2 separate regions of the Homo sapiens genome follow, and region 2 is linked to region 1. Evidence: promoter capture Hi-C in 16 types of primary human blood cells and fetal thymus (Javierre and others, 2016). All regions are on one chromosome and are shown on one strand. The core of a region is centred on a gene start or on the middle of the fragment in contact, and the rest is flanking DNA. Distances in the headings are between cores, read along the strand shown.

Region 1 (3,948 bases), core at 962-3,461:
GAGGCACGAGAACTGCTTGAACCCAGGAGGTGGAGGCTGCAGTGTGCAGAGATCACACCACTACACTCCAGCCTGAGTGACAAAGTGAGACTCTGTCTCAAAAAAAAATTTTTTTTTCTAAAGGTTTTACTTAATGTTTTTATTTAATCTTTGCTAATTGTGAACCCTTCTGCAATGGGCTTTGCAGGTACGATTTCAACTTCAAATCTTTCTATTTAAGTGAGAGAAAGGTAATTGAAAGATTGTTTTATCAATATTTTTACTTTTTCTACCTTAGGTTATTCCCTTCCAGGTCAATTTCTCACATAAACTCATATCTGCAAAGCCCATACCAAAAGGGTTCCCAATTAGCAAAGATTAAATAAAATATTAAGTAAAACCTTTTTTAAATTTTTAATTACTGAATTTTAAGTGTCTTAATTATAAGAACATCCGACTTTTACGGCTAGGTGAATATTCTCTTTGAAGTCTAGACAATAGTTTTTGAATACTACTCTTCTTAGTAAACTAATGTATTCGTTCATTATCAGATAAATGGAATGTAAACCAGTTATGTAAAAATATCACATATACTAATGCATTTTTCCAAACCTTAAAGCCCTACAGAAATTATAAAGAAACATTATTCTCGTGTTATCATGAAGCTAGAAGGGTCCAAAGAAATACAAAGTGAAACCTCTTGTATTTAAAACAAAACTTGCACCACCACCACCACCCCAAAATAGTTTTTTTTTTTTTTTAGAATATCTCTTCCAAGTTTTAAAGTTCAAGTAAAATTGATGTAATAGCAATAAGTGTAGTAACAGTAAAGTAGGGAATGGTGACTATTCTATAGCAAAGATCTACAGATGTTGGAATTGTGTTAAAAACCTTCAGAGCCACACCACAGCCTTCTATTACATTTAAATGTCGTAGGAAAAACTGCAATTTTCCGGAAAATTGTATTAAGGACCAGGTGCTCTAATACCAAGAGCTGTTTTGACACATCAAAGGTTAAGTTTGGGTCTTTGAAAATCCTGCCTCTTACTGAACACTTTAAAAGTCATTCATGTTAAAACACACACATTCTTGCCTTTGACTATACACTGTAAAAGTACTACATGTTAAAATGGAGATGGGGACATTTTTGTTGTTTAAGTTTATGGAAGTATGACTCCATTTTAGTATAGCTACAATGTCGCAAACGATGGAATAAGGTACTCATCAATACATTACCTGGTAAGTATAAATAGTTCAACTTGCCGGCTTTGAAAAGCTTAATCCTATTTCTTATGGTGAACCTTAAATAAAATGAAAATACACAACTGACAATGTTTAACGTGCACTTAAACAAACAAAAAACAAAAAAAAACAGGAGCTAGCAATTCGAAATCCTCCAAACACCCGCGGAAGTCTGACACACAGGGTGTTTTCCTCGGTGACCGCCAGCCGGACATTCCTATGGGAAAAGCAGCTTCTTCTGTGCGGTTCGAAGAAAATCAACCCCTTCCTTTCATCACTTTCTCATTCACTCTGCAGGGGGTGGGCCAATAAGGAGCTGAATGAAGCTCCCCTTTGGCATCCGGGCGCACGTCTCGCCTCCTCCCCACTACTTTCTGGGTTCCCTAAGGCTGCCGAAGCCGAGGACCTGGAGCCGGGTAGTGTCCCGGCGCTGCGCCCGGGGGCTCCAGGCCTCAACCCGAAGGGCTCAGCCCCGGGAGAGGCCAGGCACGCGAGGGCAGCCACAGCTCCAAGGGGCGCCAAGAAAAGCAATGCTCACTCGCCACGCACAGGGTTCGGGGGAGGTAAGGGTGCGTTTTCTTCCCATATTCCCGGTGAGAAAACGAGGTCGAGGGAAAAGGGGATGATACAACTGGAGCATGGCATATGGACTCAGTGAACAAAGGGACTGGAGCAAGAAGCAGCAGCCACGCCAACGCAGACTCAAAAGGGCTCTCCGGCTTTACGCACGCAACCCTCATCTCGACAGCGCTCGGCGCCCCTTACGCCACTGGCTCAGCCTCAGAGACTTCGCGAATATGGCTTTGCGCACTGCGGCGGGGCTGCGCCGCAACCGAGCTCAGCCCTGTGGCTCCTCCTCGCTGCCCTGCGCGGATTGGTGGCAGACGGCAACCGGGCCGCTGATTGGGCGGCGAAGGAGCCATTCGGGGAGACTCTGGTGGGTTCGGCTGCCCCAAGAGTGATAAGTTCGGCTTCAGACACGCCTTAGCGCCAGCAGTGAGTCGGAGCTCTATGGAGGTGGCAGCGGGTACCGAGTGGCGGCTGCAGCAGCGACTCCTCTGAGCTGAGTTTGAGGCCGTCCCCGACTCCTTCCTCCCCCTTCCCTCCCCCTTTTTTTTGTTTTCCGTTCCCCTTTCCCCTCCCTTCCCTATCCCCGACGACCGGATCCTGAGGAGGCAGCTGCGGTGGCAGCTGCTGAGTTCTCGGTGAAGGTGAGTTGAGCCGCTGCCGCCGCCGAGTGGAGCGCTCTAAAATGGCCGCCGTCCCTGGTCGCTTCTTCTCGAGTGGTACAAAATGGCGGCCGCAGGCGGAGCCGGGTGGGGCGACCCTTTTTTAGCATTTCCTCTGCGCTTCAGATACCTGGAAAGTCTTGGCTTTTGTTCTCTCTTCCTGTTGCTGACGGAGTAGAAGGAAAACGTCAGTGTTGGCCAGGCCGCCGTGCGGTCATGGCCGGATGGCCGACGCCTGCAGGGACGAGGCCGTGGCGGACCGAGGCACGGCTGTGCTCGGACGGCGAGGGAGCGTGGCTCGGACCGCTAGCGCCGTGGCGGGAGGCACGCGGGCCGGCAGGGAAGGCCAGGCCGTTGGCGCGGGACCAGGGAACCGCAGGCGTCCCGGAGCCTGGCCTCCCGGCGGGGAGGTGTGTAGGACCTGGAGTCGGCAGGGGCTGCCCTTCGTCGGGGAGGAAAGAGAGAGTGATGATTTCTGCCCCTTTTGTCAGCAGAGGAGGCCGTGGCGAGGCGGTTGTCAGTCCCGGGGGGATTTATGGTGCAGGAGGGGGCCCGCTTGGAGGCGGCGGGTGGGCAGGAGGCCGCCTTCCTGCTTGGAGAACAAAGAGCTGGGCGCCGGGCTGGCGGGGGTGGCCTCAGCTGCTCCTCCCCGTCGAGCGACCCGGGCCTCGCGGGGAGGTTGTCGGAAGCACTTCCCTAACTTGCGCCTGGGTGGGAGGAATGCTCCGCTCTTTTGTTCCCAGGAAGGGAAAAACGGGGCGGAGGTTCCTGCTGCCATGTTGTGGCCCTGGTCTTCCGCCTGCAAGTGCTAGTCCTGTACACCCGGCCCCCTCTCGCGCGTCTTTCCACGAGCTCTCCACGGGGAGGAGGCGAAAGGGTGGACAGGGGAAAACTGCTGAAGAGCTTTCGGAGAGACCTCATCTAGTCGCTGGCCTCGTCAAGGCAGTAAAAATTCCTAGGGCAGACATTTTCCACGTGATGTTGCTCGTGTCTGTAGTTAGACTTTTCTATTGATCTCAGTGCTCAGTTTTAAAGATAGTAGAATGTGGCTTTTTCAAAAGATTCGTTCTGAGCCGTTTAAAATGCTCTTGTGTTCTACGAAGTCTCTTTGCATCCTTGAACACCGGGGAATTTCCAGGTGGCTAAACAAAATGTAATTGTCAGTGTTTTGAGTACATTTTAGGTTAGTCTTACAGATCTGCAATGCAGTGACAGTGCCAGGATCTGAAATACGTTGTAATTGAATGAAGGCTTATAGATCTGTATGTTAGCAGTGTCTAATTTTGGTGCTCTTTCTCGTTCCAGGTATTTCATTTCTCCTGTCCCCTCCCCTCCCCACCCCATCTATTAATATTATTCTTTTGAAGATTCTTCGTTGTCAAGCCGCCAAAGTGGAGAGTGCGATTGCAGAAGGGGGTGCTTCTCGTTTCAGGTACTTGTAGATTTATTTTGGGGAATCCTTTTGAAAAGGCCAGTCTCAAAAAGTAGTTAACACAGC
Region 2 (3,933 bases), core at 943-3,442, 990 kb before region 1:
GCTCGCTTTCTTTTTTCAGGATGAATTGTATTCCTTTATATTTATATACTACATTTTACTTATGTATCCATTGATGAACATTTATATTGTTTCTGTATCTCTCGAGGTGTTAACACTGAATTGTCAGCTAATATAGATAAAGCAATGGTAGCTGACCTCCGTTTTGAGTAAAAGTAGAAAATACTAATGTTAGTTGACTACTTTTCTAGAAAAGAAGTTTCTAAGGCCAGGCACGGTGACTCACTCCTGTAATCCCAGCACTTTGGGAGATCCAGGTGGGCAGATTGCTTGAGGCCAGGAGTTTCAGACCAGCCTGGACAACATGGCGAAACCCTGTCTCTACTAAAAATACAAAAATTAGTTAGGTGGGTGGCACATGCCTGTAATCCCAGCTTCTTGGGAGGCTGTCACAAGAATCACTTGAACCTGGGAGGCGGTGGTTGCAGTGAGCTGAGATTGTACCAGTGCACTCTAGCCTGGGCAACAGAGCAAGACTCTGTCTCAGAAAAAAAAAAAAAAGTTTTTTAAAAAAGTAATAATCCTCAGTGTGGCTGTGTTTATTTATAGGAAATAGTTGAGTGAATAGTAAAAAAATTGTTCCTTGATAGTTTACAAAGAGGGATTTTTGGCAAATGTAAAAATGACTATGTTTTGGCCGGGCATGGTGGCCCACACCTGTTATCCCAGCACTTTGGGAGCCTGAGGCAGGCGGTTCATGAGGTCAGGAGATCGAGACCATCCTGGCCAATATGGTGAAACCCTGTCTCTGCTAAAAATCCAAAAAAAAAAAAAAAAATAGCTGGGTATGGTGGCATGCACCTGTAGTCCCAACTAATTGGGAGGCTGAGGCAGGAGAATCGTTTGAACCCGGGAGGCAGAGGTTGCAGTGAGCCGAGATCGCATCACCGCACTCCAGCCTGGCAAGAATGAGACTCTGTCTCAAAAAAAAAAAGACGATGTTTTAATTTTTTTCTAAAAGTTTTGGTACCTCTTTCTTTTCTCTTCTCTTTTGTTTCCCTGTTTTCTAAATTGTGTCCATTCATTCATTCCAATACAAAATATTTACTGAGTGCTTATTATGTGCTGTGGAAGTGGTGCACTGTTCTTATCCCCAATTTCTCCCCAATATCTCACAACACAGTAGAAAAAAATATCAGTGTAGTAGGGTTTTGCCTTGAAATAAAGCTATCTTCCATTTACGGGCCAAGTATGCCAGGGCATGTGTGGAGGAGTGGGCTTATCTATTTGCGCTAAGGTCTGAGGGAAGGTGTTTATCATAATGGAGATAATTTGGGTCAAAAACACTACCTCATCTGTGTAAAAGAAGAAGCATTTCTGAGTCCAGGATTTTCTTAGATTGTTCATGGACCCAAGCTTGCGTCTCTAGGAACATCAAAAACACAAGGGGACATTGCTTTGGAAGAATGTACAACGTGATGTTCTGAAGGCCAGGAGCAAATCCCCTCCAGCCCTGCAGGCAGGTCTTACCTATAATGAGCACGCACACTGCTGCAGAGCCAACCCAGGACCCACCTGTTGTGAAAGGCATGGTTAGCTCACCTGGCATTGTCAATCTCTGGAAATGCAATGAATGGAATAGGACTGCTCTGGGGACAAGTCTTGGTACCAACCTGTTCTTCGCGAAGATGGAGCCGCTGCCAGTGTGACTCCAGGACTGATTTCCCAGTTAGCTAAGGACCTTCTCATGGTCTTGTTACCTTAATCTCTCCTTCCGACCAGCTTCTTATTCAGCTCTGTTAGTACTCATTCCTCCCCTGCCTGTTCTTCTTCCACAAAGAGTCCTCAAGTCCTTGGCTCCTGTTTTTGTCCCATCCCACAAGTACTGCCCTGCACATTTTTCTTTGTGAACTCACATGGTTAATTATCTGAGCCACTTCCTTGTCAGAACTCTGGGTTCCCTCACTTTCTCTCATTTGGCTGGACTCATCCATCAGAAAACTAACTCTGGATGTATGAGACCTCTGTCTTCTCAGCTCCTACTTCTGGGCTGCTGCTCCTGCTGCTAGAAGAAGTGTAGATTACACACACTGTGCCACTGCGATTAGCTCCTCCTTCAAGAGCTCATTACTTGCCTTAGCCTTCACCACCTTCCTCAAGCCCTATACCACCCCTGAGTTCTCATCCCTGGCATGTGGTTTTTCCTCCTAGGGACATTGAGGCCATTTCCTTACTTCCTTTCTCCCTTTAATTTGCTCTTATTGAACTTTGTCCTTGCCAATCCCCTGAGATCTCTTTCCGTATGCGTTAATAGCATCCATCTTGTAAAATCTGATGGTTGGTTCTCAGTCCTCTTTCAACTTGAACTTTTAGTGATATTTGACACAGTTGGTTCCTTTCCCTTTCTTGACCACTTTCTTCATTTGGTTATGGGGACACTGCAGAAGTCTTTGACTTCTTTTCACCCATTGGCTGTTCCATCTTATCTTCTTCCCTAGCTCCTCTTTTTTTTCTGACGTCCAAATATTTGAATGTCTCAGAGCTCACTTCTCAGCCTCATCTCTGCTCTTTCTTACTCAGTAAGAAATCTCAGCTGGTGTTCTGACTTTAAATGCCAACTATAGGCTGATCATTCTGGAATGTGCATTTCTATATGCACTTTCTGTCCTGAATTCCAGACTTGTATTTCCAGCTGCCTACTTGGCATATTCCCTTGGGTCTCTAGTAGACATCTCAAACTCCACACGTCCAAAACAAAGCTCTTGATTTCTCCATGTCAAATTGCTCCTTCATGGCTTCTCCATCCTTGTTGCCCAAGCCAAAATAGAGAGTCACCCTTGATTCGTCTCTCTCTTACCTTCCACTCTACTCTATCAGAAGAGGTCCGTAATCCATTTACTTTGCTCCAGACCACCATCATTTCTCAGTGGAACAACTATCCCTGCTTTCGCTATTCCCCTGCCTTCATTTTTCATACAGAAGCCAGGGAGATCACTTAGCAACTTACATTAGATAAGGTCATTCCCTTGATTAAAACCTTCCACAAGCTTCCCATGATACTCAAAATCTAGGTTCCCAAACCTTACTTCCAAAGTCCTGTGTGATCTGGCCTCTGGCCGATCTCTCTAATCTTACCTTATTCCCTTTTCTCCTTTGCCCATTCTATTCTAGCTTCACTGGCCTGCTTTGGATTTTTTCAACCTCGTAAGCCACTTCTTTCCCTGATTTTCACATGGCCTTAGAAAGTCTAAATGACATCTCAGAGAGGTTTCCCTGACCACTCATTCTAAAGGAGCCCGACACCTATCACATCACCATATTTTAATTGTCTGCATAACACTTATCTCTGTTGGATATTTTTCTTGTTTATTTGGTATTGTCTGCTCCAACTAGAAGGTCATCAGAAACTTTGCTTTGTTCATTCATGTATTCTCTGCACAATTTGACATGGGTCATTTACAAGATGATTGTATACGTCAGTCCAAGGCATGGGAGAATAGGCTGGAGATGCCGTAGGCTGACACCTTATGTAATACTTCACCAAGACCTGCTGATTTTACCTCCTAAACATTTTTCTATTCCAGGGCTGTCCCTCCATATAAAAGAGATGGAGAAGGCACAAAGCTGTCATCATTTCTTTATTACTTCAACAGTTTCCATCTGGTCTTCCTGCCTTCAGTCTTATTTTCTCCGATCCATTCTCTGCCACAGTTCCTAAAACATAAGTCTGGCATGTCACTCTCCTGTTTAAAACTCTTCAAAGGCTTTCAGTCATTTGCATGATAAAGTCATTAGCCTAACAGTATATTCTGTGTTGTGATAGGTGGTCTCTGTCTCTATGTCCTTCTTGTTTTATTCTCCAAGAATACCCAGCTGCTTGTAGGGCACTGTGAATACTTTGCTTTCCCTGTTTCTGTGTCTTTGCTCATGTGCTCCACTCTGCCTTGGACTGTCTGGCCTTTAGAAGCCATGTGA

Evidence for each region. Contacts are between HindIII fragments. The CHiCAGO score rates a contact against its expected background, and 5 or more counts as called.
Region 2: a fragment that was not itself captured here is called in contact with the fragment with the promoter of EIF4G2 in region 1 in 2 of 17 cell types (naive CD4 T cells and total CD8 T cells); the score reaches 6.3 in naive CD4 T cells.

The regions. Positions count from the first base shown.
Region 1 is chr11:10,807,189-10,811,136 of GRCh38, reverse strand. EIF4G2 (eukaryotic translation initiation factor 4 gamma 2) reads left to right here and starts at 2,211. Exons shown (of 22, transcript NM_001418.4): 1 at 2,211-2,432; 2 at 3,756-3,882. The coding sequence starts at 3,842. It overlaps LOC101928053 (a long non-coding RNA gene), which reads right to left and starts at 1,840. Exons shown (of 3, transcript NR_120540.1): 1 at 1,771-1,840; 2 at 1,216-1,280. RefSeq lists enhancers at 1,127-1,733, 1,809-1,858, 2,369-2,628, 3,359-3,438 and a silencer at 2,039-2,088. The HindIII fragment of the contact is 4,879 bases long and covers 1,258-3,948 here.
Region 2 is chr11:11,799,572-11,803,504 of GRCh38, reverse strand. No RefSeq gene overlaps it. Among named protein-coding and RNA genes, the nearest start is that of MIR8070, 18 kb to the right of the region's middle. The HindIII fragment of the contact is 1,631 bases long and covers 1,377-3,007 here.